2 separate regions of the Homo sapiens genome follow, and region 2 is linked to region 1. Evidence: promoter capture Hi-C in 16 types of primary human blood cells and fetal thymus (Javierre and others, 2016). All regions are on one chromosome and are shown on one strand. Each heading gives the region's core, a stretch centred on a gene start or on the middle of the fragment in contact. The rest is flanking DNA. Distances are from core to core; before and after follow the strand shown. Region 1 holds the start of AGBL2 (AGBL carboxypeptidase 2). Region 2 overlaps ATG13 (autophagy related 13).

The links. The method cuts DNA at HindIII sites, captures the fragments that hold promoters and counts their contacts. A CHiCAGO score of 5 or more calls a contact.
Region 2: a fragment that was not itself captured here is called in contact with the fragment with the promoter of AGBL2 in region 1 in 1 of 17 cell types (monocytes); the score reaches 5.2 in monocytes.

The regions. Positions count from the first base shown.
Region 1 is chr11:47,711,285-47,718,267 of GRCh38, reverse strand. It overlaps AGBL2 (AGBL carboxypeptidase 2), which reads left to right and starts at 2,899. Exons shown (of 19, transcript NM_024783.4): 1 at 2,899-3,093; 2 at 3,518-3,650; 3 at 3,921-3,984. The coding sequence starts at 3,618. It overlaps FNBP4 (formin binding protein 4), which reads left to right. Exons shown (of 17, transcript NM_015308.5): 17 at 756-1,774. The coding sequence ends at 846. RefSeq lists an enhancer at 3,162-3,221. The HindIII fragment of the contact is 6,151 bases long and covers 1,736-6,983 here.
Region 2 is chr11:46,652,219-46,659,201 of GRCh38, reverse strand. ATG13 (autophagy related 13) reads right to left here. Exons shown (of 19, transcript NM_001346311.2): 8 at 2,929-2,969; 9 at 2,011-2,107; 10 at 1,580-1,678. Among named protein-coding and RNA genes, the nearest start is that of ATG13, 38 kb to the right of the region's middle. The HindIII fragment of the contact is 2,737 bases long and covers 2,596-5,332 here.

The sequences.
Region 1 (6,983 bases), core at 1,650-4,149:
CACTCCAGTCTGGGCAACAGAGCAAGACTCCATCTCAAAAACAGAAAAAAAAACATTAGATCCCAGGGTCCCTGTTGGTAGACTGAGGATTAGATATATCTGCCCTGAAGAATCATAACTCCTGTGGGCTAAGAAAAACTCTAATAGAACGTGTTTCATTTCTTCAGTGTGCCTTTAATGGTTATTGGAGGTATATTTATATAAAATAAATAAGGCCGGGCACGGTGGCTCACACCTGTAATCCCAGCACTTTGGGAGGCCAAGGCAGTCAGATCACCTGAGGTTGGGAGTTCGAGACCAGCCTGACCAACATGGAGAAACCCTGTCGCTACTTAAAAAAAAAAAAAATTAGCCAGGCATGGTTGCACATGCCTGTAATCCCAGCTACTCTGAGGGGAGGCTGAGGCAGGAGAATCGCTTGAACCTGGGAGGCGGAGGTTGCGGTGAGCCGAGATCGCACCATTGCACTCCAGACTGGGCAACAAGAGCAAAATTCCGTCTCAATCAGTCAATAATAAATAAATAAATATGCACTTAGACATATACGTAAAACTGGGGTAGTGTTTGGTTGACCTATCAGAATGAAGAAGTTTGATGAAGAATATACTGATGTTTGGCTGAGAAACAAAAGATTTTCATAAACATAGACGTGATAGATCAGGTTTTTAATTTCAGTTAGATTTTTATTTGCTGGGAAATGAATACTTTTGTTAATTTTTCTTTCCACTAAAATAATCTGTATGTTGTTTTCACAGTGGCATGGCAGAGAGAAATGCTAATTTTGAAGCCCTTCCTGAGGATTGGAGAGCAAGGCTGAAGAGAAGGAAAATGGCTCCAAACACATAGTTTTTAAGTTTTTAAAACTTTTTTGTATTATTGTTTGTTTTGTGTTCAGTTCAAAGTCTTAACCAGTTTTATTGTCAAATAAACTATAAATGTTATGGGGGAGATCTTATAAATTTCCTGGGCAAGAGTGTATGCATACAAAGTTTTCACTTTTGTGAAATGTAATTTTTCTGTTTTTGCAAAGGGATGAGGTGATTGGAATTGCTTTGACCATGCTGCCTTTATTCTCAAACTGGCAAACTTAGCATGTTAGGTGTATTAACCTCATCAGTCTTGAAGAACATGTGGCTCATGAGTATAACACTTCTGTAGAGGACTCCCTGACAAAAGTGAAGAATTAACTTCTCCTCCAGAACAAGTGCAATTCAGAAGGCAGCTCTGCATTCTACCTTGCTTGACTGGAATTGTCTGAAGCTTTTTCTGGCCTCTTTTCTCTAGTCGGCCACCCCTGAAGTGCTGAGGTCTAAGTGGTTTACCTCGTGCTGATAGATGGCCACACTCTTTAGAGTAGTTCTCATAAGTTCTAGAACTGGTAGCTCGGTCGTTTCGCACACTAGGTGGCATACAGGCAGCAGCAGGTGTTCATATCCTTGATTTTGAGAATTTCCCCTCAAGTATGTGGCAGTAAATACAACAAGACACTCTATGTATTAATGTCTCCATTGTCTTAACCCTGTTCCAAAACAAAATTCACCTCCTTTCTTTATGTGAATGTATTCTCCATAAAATTCCAGTATTTAAAAAGCAGTTTACTGTTCTGTACTTTCTGTTGTATCACAATCAGGTAAAAGTCACTTTAAACTGAGGAAACGGCAAATTGTGTTTTAAAGCTCTTTGTATTTCTCCAGTTTCTGACCTTGTAAATTTGTATATATGCACTAATAAAGCTTTTTTTATAATCCTGATGGGTTATCCTTTTGCTCGTCAACTCCTGTTATTCTGATTATGTAACCAGGACTTGTTTTTTTTTCTAAGCATATACAATGCAAGGTGCAAACATTTAACAACAGCTTTCAAGAAAATGAGCAGGAGATCTTTAATGGGGAGTGGTGGGGCCAGTTTAGACAAACAGGCTTCTAGTCCCAGATGGTGCTGTGTGATCAAAGTTTTGGGGTCTAATATTATCTATAATATCTAGATTGGTTAATAGCCATATTAGATAATATTTTACCTACTTAATTCCTGGCAATGATGTAATATGGTTAACATTTCAGAAAAAAAGGTGCTTTATAGCTTTTTTCCCCCCACTGATAAAAGTAACAGATACGGTTATATTCATATATAGTTAACCAAAGACACGTGTTTGAATTTTATTGTAGTATATTTATTTTTTTGTTGTTGGTTTTTTGTTTTTTTTTTTTCTGGAGACAGAATTTCGCTCTTGTTGCTCAGGCTGGAGTGCAATGGCACGATCTCGGCTCACCGCAACCTCCGCCTCCCAGGTTCAAGTGATTCTCCTGCCTCAGCCTCCCGAGTAGCTGGGATTACAGGCATGCGCCACCACACCCAGCTAATTTTGTATTTTTAGTAGAGATGGGGTTTTTCCATGTTGGTCAGGCTAGTCTCCAACTCTCGACCTCCCAAAGTTCTGGGATTACAGGCGAGAGCCACCGCGCCTGGCCTGGAGTAAATTTCTATGCATATAATTGATTTTTTTAAACCTAATCAAAATGTGTGATTTGAATTTGTTAGCTCTGTTTCTTAAGATTTGCAGTGTAGAAGGTAATTTTTCCTTTCTAGCTGTGCAGTGGAGAGAATGTTAAGGTGAAAGGAGAGAAGCAGCAGCTCTCTTAGAGCAAATTATGCATAACAGTTATCTAAAGCCAACAGCAAACCAGCTTGGAAGTATGTTGAAGGCTACTGGCATCGTACTCATCAATGCGGTTTCGATTCCGAGGCTGGGGCTGTGATGTATGAGGGGAAGAAAGCCGCTGCCCGCCATACATGTTGCAGACCTTCCCGGGGTCCCCGCTCCCTCCTTGGGGGCGAGGCCTAGCTCCCCGGAAGCGCCCGACCGCCCCGCCCTTTCTCCGCTTCCTGCTTTCGGTTGCTAGACTACCCGGGCCCTCACAGAAGGCGGTGGCGGGCGGGTGCAGCGAGTTTGTCCCCTTGCCCGCACACTGCTTGGCCTCTGTACTTAAGTGCGGTGGCCGCCTGCCTCGCTGGAGCTTCTCTGCCGCAGCCATCCGTGCTGCTTGGGACGGGCCGGGGCGCGAAGGCGGTCGCATCCATCGCTCTGCCCTCCTGGGAAGTTTCTGCTCTCCTTCCCCGCTCCTACCCTTAGGAAACCCCCTCACCACCTGCCCCAGACCAGGTTCCTCTGAACCCTAAATTCAATCTTTAGGGCCCACTTTCCCAACCCCCTGACCTTTTTCCATCGGCACCTACCGAGACGACTTCGTCGCGTGCTCCCATACCCATTTCTTTCACTTTCCTGTGGCGAGCATCTCCTTTCTCAGGGAAAGGGAAGCATGGGGCCAGCACCTTGGGAAGAAGAAGCGGGAAGATACGCTGCCCTCCCTGTCTCAGATGCACCTCTGGCCTCGGCGTGACCACCTTGTTTAGCTGAGGAGAAGCTGGGTTGGCAGGGTTTTCTGAAGTCAAGAGGGAGCTGGGGGGCGCCCGGGGAGGTATTGGCAGTTTTTTCACTTGTCCTCTTGTGGCTTTGTAGCTTCTCTTGTGTAATCAGCTGCCTATTTGGAAATTGGGCAGGGTTTGCGACTGGATGCTAATGTCACTGACTAGTTTTCAGCCTACCATCCAGAAGTAACATGTTCCCAGCTTTGGAAACGCACCTAAAGCAGGTCGGTACACAACACGGAAAGCCACAGAAATTTCTTCGGGGAACTCCATTTCTTCGGGAACTCCACAGAAATCTGCTACTAGATGAGAAGGGATGTTCTGGTGGCATCTTTTCTCAGCTGGAGATCTTGATCCCCACGATAGAATAATTCGCATGGAATGCAGCTCGCTTGGTTTAGTCTAGTCCTATGCAACAACGCTCATGTACTTTTTGTTGAGTCTATTATGGTTTGAAAACATTATCTTGATTGAAGTGGCCTTTCCTTTCACAGACTATTCCTGATCCTTATGAAGACTTTATGTACCGTCACCTCCAATATTATGGCTACTTTAAAGGTAATACCATGTTCTTATCTAGTATCACCTTTCCTGGACTCAAGAGGAAAATTGCTTCGTTAGCTGGGAGGGTTGCACTTGGGTAGACTAATAAATAATTTGCATTGACAAATAAATACTTTTTCCTCTACCATTAGTGAAAAGTACTTCCTTTCCCCATTGATCTGCGGGTCACCTCTGTCAAGTAGACAGCATCACTTAATACAAAGGTCTGTTTCTGGGCTCTCTATTCCATTGGTCTGTTTGGCTATCCTTTACCAGTATCACTGTCTCTTAATTACTATATGGCATTAAAATAGTCTTTATCTGGAAAGACATGTCTTCCCACCTTGTTCTTCAGAAGTGTCACGGCTGTTCTTGAGTCTTTGCCTTACTATATAAATTTTACAATTGGCGGCCGGGCACGGTGGCTCACACCTGTAATCACAGCACTTTGGGAGGCCGAGACGGGTGGAGCACGAGGTCAGGAGATCGAGACCATCCTGGCTAACACGGTGAAACCCCGTCTCTACTAAAAATACAAAAAAATTAGCCGGGCGTGGTGGTGGGTGCCTGTAGTCCCAGCTACTGGGAAGGCTGAGGCAGGAGAATGGCGTGAACCTGGGAGGCGGAGCTTGCAGTGAGCCGAGATCAAGCCACTGCACTCCAGCCTGGGCGACAGAGTGAGACTCTGTCTCAAAAAAAATAAATAAATAAAAATTTAAAAAAATAAATTTTGCAATTGGCTTATGACATTTTATTTTATTTTTTATTTATTTTGAGATGAAGTCTCACCCTGTCGCCCAGGCTGGAGTGCAGTGGCACGATCTCGGCTCACTGCAACCTCTGCCTCCCAGGTTCAAGAGATTCTCCTGCCTCAGCCTCCTGAGTAGCTGGGATTACAGGCACGAGCCACCACGCCTGGGTAATTTTTGTTTCTTTCTTTTTTTTTTTTTTTTTGCGATAGAGTCTCACTCTTTTCACCCAGGCTGAAATGCAATGGCGCAATCTCGGCTCACTGCGACCTCCACCTCCTGGGTTCAAGAGATTCTCCTGCCTCAGCCTCCCAAGTAGCTGGGATTACAGGCGCCCACCACCACTCCCAGCTAATTTTTTTGTGTATTTGTAGTAGAGACGGGGTTTCAACATGTTGGCCAGGCTGGTCTTGAACTCCTGACCTCAGGTGATCCACCTGCCTAGGCCTCCCAAAGTGGTGGGATTACAGACGTGAGCTTACCGCGCCCAGTGTTTTTTTTATTCTTGAGACGGAGTTATGCTCTTGTTGCCCAGGCTGGAGTGCAGTGGTGCAATCTAGGCTTGCTGCAACTTCCACCTCGCGGGGTCAAGCGATTTTCCTGCCTCAGCCTCCCAAGTACCCAGGTAGCTGGGATTACAGGCGTGTACCACCATGCCTGGCTAATTTTGTATTTTTAGTAGAAACGGTTTCACCATGTTGGCCAGGCTGGTCTCGAACTGACCTCAGGTGATCCACCCACCTCAGCCTCCCAAAATGCCAAGATTACAGGCATGAGCCACCACGCTCGGCCTAATTTTGGTATTTTTAGTAGACACAGGGTTTCCTCATGTTGGCCAGGCTGTTCTCGAACTCCTGACCTAAGGTGATCCACCCACCTTGGCCTCCCAAAGTGCTGGGATTACAGGCGTGAGCCACTGTCCCCAGCCCGCTTATGACATTTTAAAAGATTATAGGAATTGCATTAAATCTGTAGATCAAATTTCACAAGAACTGGCAATTTTTCAACACTGGGTTCTCCAATCTATGACTATAATATTTATCTCCATTTACTTAGGTCTTTAATGTCTCCCAATAAAGATTTATAGTTTTTCATAATACTTCATATTTTTATGCTATTATAAATATTGATCTTCTTAAAATTTAATTTCCTAACTTTGTTACTGGTATATTGAAATAAGATGGAGTAATATTCATTGTATTAGTATTAATTTTATTTCTATCAAAGAATGTTGTTAAACTTTTTTATTAACTACATTAGTCCCCCCTTATCTACAGGGGGGAGGTTCCAAGGCCCCTGGATGGCCTGAAACCACTGATAGTACTAAATCCAAATCACTGTCATTCAGAACAGACTTCTATCTTCCACCCACAAATTTAATGCCTTTTCCACCATAACTAAGTACTTATGTACTGTGGCCATTACTTTTGCAATATGAAGTATGACAGCAAAACTATTATGATATTTATTTATTTATTTTTTAGACGGTCTGTTTTTTGCCTTGGCCGGAGTGCAATGTTGCAATCACAGCTCATTGCAGCCTTGACTTCCCAGGCTTAAGCGATCCTCCTACCTCCCAACTAGAAGGGAACACAAGCACATGCCAGCACACCCAGCTAATTTAAAAATTTTTTTTGTAGAGACATGGTCTTACTATGTTGCTCAGGCTGGTCATCATACAATTTTTTACTTTCCATACAAAGTCAAGAACTTCAGGCCGGGCGTGGTGGCTCACGCCTGTAATCCCAGCACTTTGGGAGGCCAAGGTGGGCAGATCACCTGAGGTCAGGAGTTCGAGACCAGCCTGGCCAACATGGCAAAACCCTACCTCTACTAAAAATACAAAAAATTAGCTGGGCATGGTGTTGCACGCCTGTAATCCCAGCTACTCGGAAGGCGGAGGCAGGAGAAATGCTTGAACCCGGGAGGCAGAGGTTGCAGTGAGCTGAGATTGCGCTACTGCACTCCAGATTGTTGAAGTTTCAATACCCTCTTCATGGGGAGAGAGACATTCAGGGAGGGGTTGTGTAGGCAATTGTGAAAGGTAGTAAATGATATTCAGGAGAAACGAATGAGCTCCAAAAACCATGTCCTGGGACAAAGTTCCTCTGAGCTCCGGGGAGGGGTGGCAAGCAAGTGAGGGGAGGAGCTTCACTGAAGAAAGGTTGTCTTATGCAAATAGTTGCCCAGGTAATCTCTGAGTTGCCCTCAGAATTGATGAAAAGTCTATCTGGGTGTCGTGACAATTTTTAGTCTCCTCTTCGG
Region 2 (6,983 bases), core at 2,715-5,214, 1.1 Mb after region 1:
AATGTTTTGTTCTTGTTTCTCATTTTTAAGACAAGGTGTCACTCTGTCACCCAGGCTAGAGTGCTGTGGCATGTCTCACTGCAGCCTTCCCAGGCTCAAGCAATCCTCCTGCTTCAGCCTCGAGTAGCTGGGACTACAGGAATGTACCACCATGCTCAGCTAACTTAATTTTTTGTAGAGACAGGGGTCTCCCTCTGTTGCCCAGGCTGGTCTTGAATTCCTAAGCTCAAGCAATCCTCCAGCCTCAGCCTCCCAAAGTGCTAGGATTACAGGTGTGAGCCACTGCATCCAGCCTGTTTTTTAAACCCAAACATCTTACCTGACCTATTATTTGAGAGAGCATTTTCTTTTCTTTTCTTTTTTTCTAAATTGGTAGACTCACTCACACCTGTAATTCCAGCATTTTGGGAGGCCGAAGCAGGCGGATCATCTGAGGTCAGGAGCTTGAGACCAGCCTGACCAACATGGAGAAACCCCGTCTCTACTAAAAATACAAAAATTAACCGGGCGTGGTGGCGCATGCCTGTAACCCCAGCTACTCGGGAGGCTCAGGCAGGAGAACTGTTTGAACCCAAGAGGTGAAGGCTGCGGTGAGCCAAGATCATGCCACTGCACTCCAGCCTGGACAACAAGAGTGAAAATCCGTCTCAAAAAAAAAAAAAAAAATTGGTAGAAACAGTGTTTCACCACATTGCCTGGGCTGATCTCCAACTCCTGGGCTTGAGCAATCCACAGATCTCAGCTTCCCAAAGTGCCGGGATTATAGGTGTTAGCCACCATGCCTGGTCTGAGAGAGCATTTTCTTAAGCCAGGCCAGTAATGGAGCCACATCTGGGTTTTCAAAGAATTATCAGTAGTAGAGACTCCACGAAACAAGTATCTAAACCCTAAAGCCAAGCCTATTCAATTTCACAAGTCTATCACATAAAGGTACTATCCTTCCTGATATACATCTAGTCTAACCCCTGTTTTCTGAGTTCTAGACCTGGAGACATTTTATTCTGATATGAAACTAATGTGCCAGATGGTAACCTGAAAACCAATTAATTTGTCAAGGATATTCCACAAATCACTGCCACTCTTCTAAGGCTCTAAGTAACTTGTAACTGAGAAAAGTCTTTTTTTTTTTTTTTGAGAAGGAGTCTCACTCTGTAGCCCAGGCTGGAATGCAGTGGTGCAATCTCAGCTCACTGCAACCTCTGCCTCCCAGGTTCAAGCAATTCTCCTGCCTCAGCCTCCTGAGTAGCTGGGATTATAGGCATGTGCTGGCATGCCCAGCTAATTTTTGTATTTTTAGTAGAGATGGGGTTTCACCAAGAAAAGTCTTATCACTAACATCAAGATCCAAAATATCCCAAGAATTTTCTGAGACAGTCTGTATATACTAAGTCTTGGTGTACCTAAGAGGGAGCAGAAAGAAGGGAAACTGGCCCATTTGATTTCTCTCCACGTGGGGTCTCCATCAGTGGCCCCCTGCCCACTGGAGAGTGAGTGCTGAGAAAAGTGTTCCATGTGCTTGTGCAGGATGGATGCTTCTGCCCAGCTGCAGTTTGGGAGAGCACCTTTTCACATTCCTCACCTGTAATTGCAGGGGTGCATGGGAGAGGAGCTGGGATAGGGACGGTCCACAAAGTGATCAATAATAATCCCCATGATAGGTGGGGTCCTCTCAAATTGCCTGTAATACAATAAGCAGATTCCAGTATTTGTTAGAATGCCTTTCCAGCCCCCACAAAGTCCTCAGAGGGCCCCTCACCTTACATCTGTTGGCAGGCACTACCAGAGCTTTAACTATCACAATCCCTAAATATAAACCACCAATCCTACGTTCTGGACAAACTGGCTCTGGGACACTCAAATTCTCCAATCTGGCAACTGCACTCTCTCTTTATTCTTCTGAAGGTACTGCTTTCAGCAAAGCTGAATTGTAGGTTTAGTCTTAAAGTTTAGGAGAAAAAAAACTTTAACATTTTCGGAAGAGTTCTTTTGGATTCCAGGGCTCTTCCTCACCTGGTAGACATGAATGCCAAGTTAATTCTGTAAGCACAAGAAAGAGTGATGGTGCCCACAGGGGTGCCCACTGTCCCAACACGAACTGTCTGGAAGCCTAGGAGAAGAGATACATTATTAGCTTCTTTTGCAGAGAATACTGACACTGCCCCCAGACCGTCTTTCCCTGAATTATTTGGCCTATTGTGTAATCTCTGGCATTATCCACTTAGCATGTTAAGTGCAGCAGCCTTAATTTCATATGTGTGTGTGTGTGTGTGTGTATGTGCGTGTATGTGTGTGTATATATAGGTTTCTTCCCTCTCAATGTATTCTATATTGAGCCAATATTGGCAAGGGAAACAGCACTCTATTTATAGATAAAGCTACCTTCAAAGAGATAAAATAACTGTTAGTTTTAAGGCCTGAGAAAGTTCTACTAACCAGCCCTGCAAAGGATACATCACATGCTAAAAAAGACAATGAAGGAGCACTAGAATGTCACACAAACACTTCAGTTTAAGAAGTAATTGCCTTCCACCCAAGCTGCCACTCCACGGCTAAGTAAAGAGCCAAGGCCTTGCAAGTGACACTTTCAACAAAGCTTTCCTGATTTTCTTGGTTTCATTTCCAATTTTTCAAAATTCTTGTTGTTCATCAGAAACATTTAACATCCTCACTGTAGAAAATTAGGAAAATATACAGTTTTATAAAGAGTAAGAAAGAAGACTGAGTTCCTGGAACTTTGGGAAAAATTATTTGGTTACCCTGGCAGATCAGGGGTAACCTGGACCACCTACCTGCATTCTCATCTTTTCTTTACTTGTATTATGCATATTAAGATGACAATCTACATATTATAACAAGTAGAAACGAAGATCATCTCTGAAGTTAGGAGAGCTCTGAACACTACGATGTTTTTCAACCGTTGATACATACCTTCTCCTAAGCCACTCAGCTGAACTTCTCCAAAATATATCCTGTATGGAAGAAAAAATAAGAAATGTTACCTGATTCTTTACTCCTAAGGGCCTCTATAGCCAAAACACGTAGAAACAAAATAAAACAAAGCCTTCCTTACTCATCTGCTCAAATACCTCTGCTGATGGAGCATTAGTAATTCCTACTACTTCAATTAAGCTACAGGCATGGAGACGTACAGAGTGGGTTGGTTAAAAAATAAGGAAAATAAGGCCAGGCACAGTGGCTCATGCCTGTGATCCCAGCACTTCGGGAGGATCACTTGAGGCCAGGAGTTCAAGACCAGTCTGGGCAACACAGCAAGACCCTGCATTGACAAAAAATAATTTTGCCGGGTGTGATGGTGCATGCCTGGAGTACCAGATAACTGGGAGGCTGAGGTGGGAGGATCACTTAAGCCCAGGAAGTTGACGCTGCAGTGAGCCAAGATTGCACCATTGCATTCCAGCCTGGGCAAAAGGATGAGACGCTGTCTCAAAAAAAGAAATGAGGAAAATAATAATTAAGTGGAAACTGCTATTTAAGTTTCTTCTCTCTGCTACTAAAATGTATTTTAAAATTATACCTACTGAGAAATAAAGAATATATAAATAAAAGTGGCCAACAGGTCTAGGATTGCTACTAGAAGGCACTGGTTTTGTTTTGTTTTGTTTTGTTTGAGACGGAGTCTTGCTCTGTCACCCAGGCTGCAGTGCAGTGGCATGATCTCGGCTCACTGCAACCTCCAGCCTCCTGGGTTCAAGCGATTCTCCTACCTCAGCCTCCCAAGTAGCTGGGATTACAGACGCATGCCACCACGCCCGGCTGTTTTTTTGTTTGTTTGTTTTGCTTTTTGAGACTGAGTCTCACTCTGTCGCCCTGGCTGGAGTGCAGTGGTGCAATCTCGGCTCACTGCAAGCTCCGCCTCCCAGGTTCATGCCATTCTCCTGCCTCAGCCTCCCGAGCAGCTGGACTACAGGTGTCCGCCACCGCGCCCGGCTAATTTTTTGTATTTTTAGTAGAGACGGGTTTTCGCCGTGTTAGCCAGGATGGTTTCGATCTCCTGATCTCGTGATCCGCCCGTCTCAGCCTCCCAAAGTGCTGGGATTACAGGCGTGAGCCACTGCGCCCGGACCTGTTTTTTGGTTTTTTTTGAGACAGTGTCTCGCTCTGTCGCTCAGGCTGGAGTGCAATGGCACCATCTTGGCTCACTGCAACCTCCACCTCCTGGACTCAAGCGATTCTTGTGCCTCAGCCTCCCAAATGGCTGGCACTACAGGTATGCGCTACCATGCCTGGCTAATTTTTGTATTTTTGGTAGAGACAGGGTTTCGCCACATTGCCCAGGCTGGTCTTGAACTCCTGAGCTCAAGTGATACACCCGCCGTAGCCTCCCAAAGTGCTGGGATTACAGGTGCAAGCCACCATGCCTGGCCTGTTTTTCGGGTTTTTTAAAAATAATTTTTGGTAGAGACAGGGTCTAACTATTGCCCAGGCTGGTTGCAAACTCCTGGCCTCAACTGTTTTTTTTGAGACAGGGTCTCAGTGTGTTGCCCATGCTGGAGTGCAGTGGTATGACCACTGCCCACTGCAGCCTCAACCTCCTGGGCTCAAGAGATCCTCTCACCTCAGTCTCCTAAGCAGCTGGGACTACAGGCACGTGCCACCACACCCAGCTAAGTTTTTTTATTTCTAGTATAGACAGGGTCTCGGTGTGTTGCCCAGGCTGGTATCGAACTCCTGAACTCAAGCGATCCTCCCACCTCATTCTCCCAAAGTGCTGGGATTACAGGTGTGAGCCACTGCCCCTGGTCCTGGCCTCAAATTATTCTCCCACTTCAGTCTCCCAAAGTGCTGGGATCACAGGCATGAGCCACCATACCTGACCAGAATGTACTAGAGTTTGATAAGTGGTCTTTAGTTGTGGGAAGCTCTCTTTTACATATATATATATATATATATATATATAAAATTTTAAAAATAGTAGTGATGAGGTCTTGCCATGTGACCCAGGCTGGTCTGAAACTCCGGGGCTCAAGCAATCCTCCCACCTCAGCCTCCCAAAGTGCTGGGATTACAGGTGTGAGCCAACTGTGCCTGGCCATGAAGAAATCTCTAAGTAGATGGCTTAACAAAGCAGGAAATCTTTTCCACCGTGGAATAATGAACTAGGTAAGACTATTCTGAAAAAAAAAAATAAAAACATAAACACAGTGGAACCTTCCTATGATTCTCCCTGGACAGGCCAGTCTATATTAGCAAAAAGTTTGAATTCAAAATACCTAAAATCTATTTTCATATTTTTCAAGTAATATTGTTAAAATTAAATATACACATGGGTTTATTCAATAAATACTAAGCTCCAACAATGTATGAAGAAGCTTCGCCAGGCGCGGTGGCTCACGCCTGTAATCCCAGCACTTTGGGAGTCTGAGGCGGGTGGATCATGAGGTCAGGAGATCGAGACCATCCTGGCTAACATGGTGAAACCCCGTCTCTACTAAAAATACAAAAAATTAGCCGGGCGTGGTGGCGGGTGCCTGTAGTCCCAGCTACTCGGGAGGCTGAGGCAGGAGAATGGCGTGAACCTGGGAGGCGGAGCTTGCAGTGAGCCGAGATTGTGCCATTGTACTCCAGCCTGGGCAACACAGCGAGACTCCGTCTCAAAAAACAAAAAAAAAAAAAAGAAGCTTCATGGTTAGATGTTAGGAATGAAATAAGGATAAATCTGAATCCTAGGTCTTACAGACTACAGTTTTGTATGAAAGAAAAGAAATGTAGCTGGACATGGTGGCTCACGCCTGTAATCCCAGCACTCTGGGAGGCCGAGGTGGGCGGATCAATTGAGGTCAGGAGTTCAAGACCAGCCTGGCCAGCATGGTGAAACCCCATCTCTAATTAAAATACAAAAATTAGCCAGGCGTGGTGGTGCATGCCTATTAATCCCAGCTACTTGGAAGGCTGAGGCACGACAATCACTTGAACCAAGGAGGTGGAGGTTGCAGTGAGCCAAAATCGTGCCACTGCACAGCCTAGGTGAGCAAGACTCCACCTCAAAAAAAAAAAAAAAAAGAAAAGAAATGAAATGTATGTAAATATCTGAAATACAAAGCACAAAAGTACTACAGATACGACAGACAAAAGATACTAAAAAAGCAGGGATCAGCAAACCTTTCTGTAAAGGACCAAATGGTAACTATTTTAAGATTGTGGGCCGTATAGGCTATAACAAATACTCAGCTTTCTGTTGTATTGCAAAAGTAGCCATAGACAATATGTAAACAAAGGGGATGGCTGTGTCCTAAAAAAACTTTTTTTATAAAAACAAGCAGATGGTCGGCTGACCATAGTTTAGTGACTCCTGCCATAAAGTAATATAGGAACAATGTTAATAAAGTGTTGGTAAAAGAGATCTTGCTAAGTAAATACCCTTTAAGGCCTTTAACAAGAAGCTGAGACTCAGGCAGTTCACTATTCATGTAAATACTGATACAGTGCTTAAAATTTGCTAAACTTTTTCTTGGCAATGTGTATTTTTTTGAGACAGAGTCTTGCTCTGTCACCCAGGCTGGAGTGCAGTGGTGTGATCATGGCTCACTGAAGCCTTGACCTTCTGGACCCAAGCAATCCTCCCTCAGCCTCCTGAGTAGCTGGGACTACAGATGTGAACCACCACACCTGGCTAATTTTTTACATTTTTAGTAGAGACAAGGTATCACTATGTTGCCCAGGCTGGTCTCGAACTCCTGACCTCAGGTGATCCTCCTGCCTCGGCCTCCCAAAGTGCTGGGATTATAGGCGTGAGTCACTACACCTGGTCAAGACTATTCTTTAATGGTATCACGCTGTTAACCTTCTAACAACAGTATAAAAAGCAGGTGGAAAAGCCAAGTCTACCTCTGAGATCACCCACATCTCTAGATCTAAGCTACAGTTATTTGTATCCAAAAGCACTCCTAAATGATCAACATCCTGTGAGCAGCACTAGTTTGTTTGGGTTTTTTTGAGATACAGTATAGCCCTGTCACCCAGGC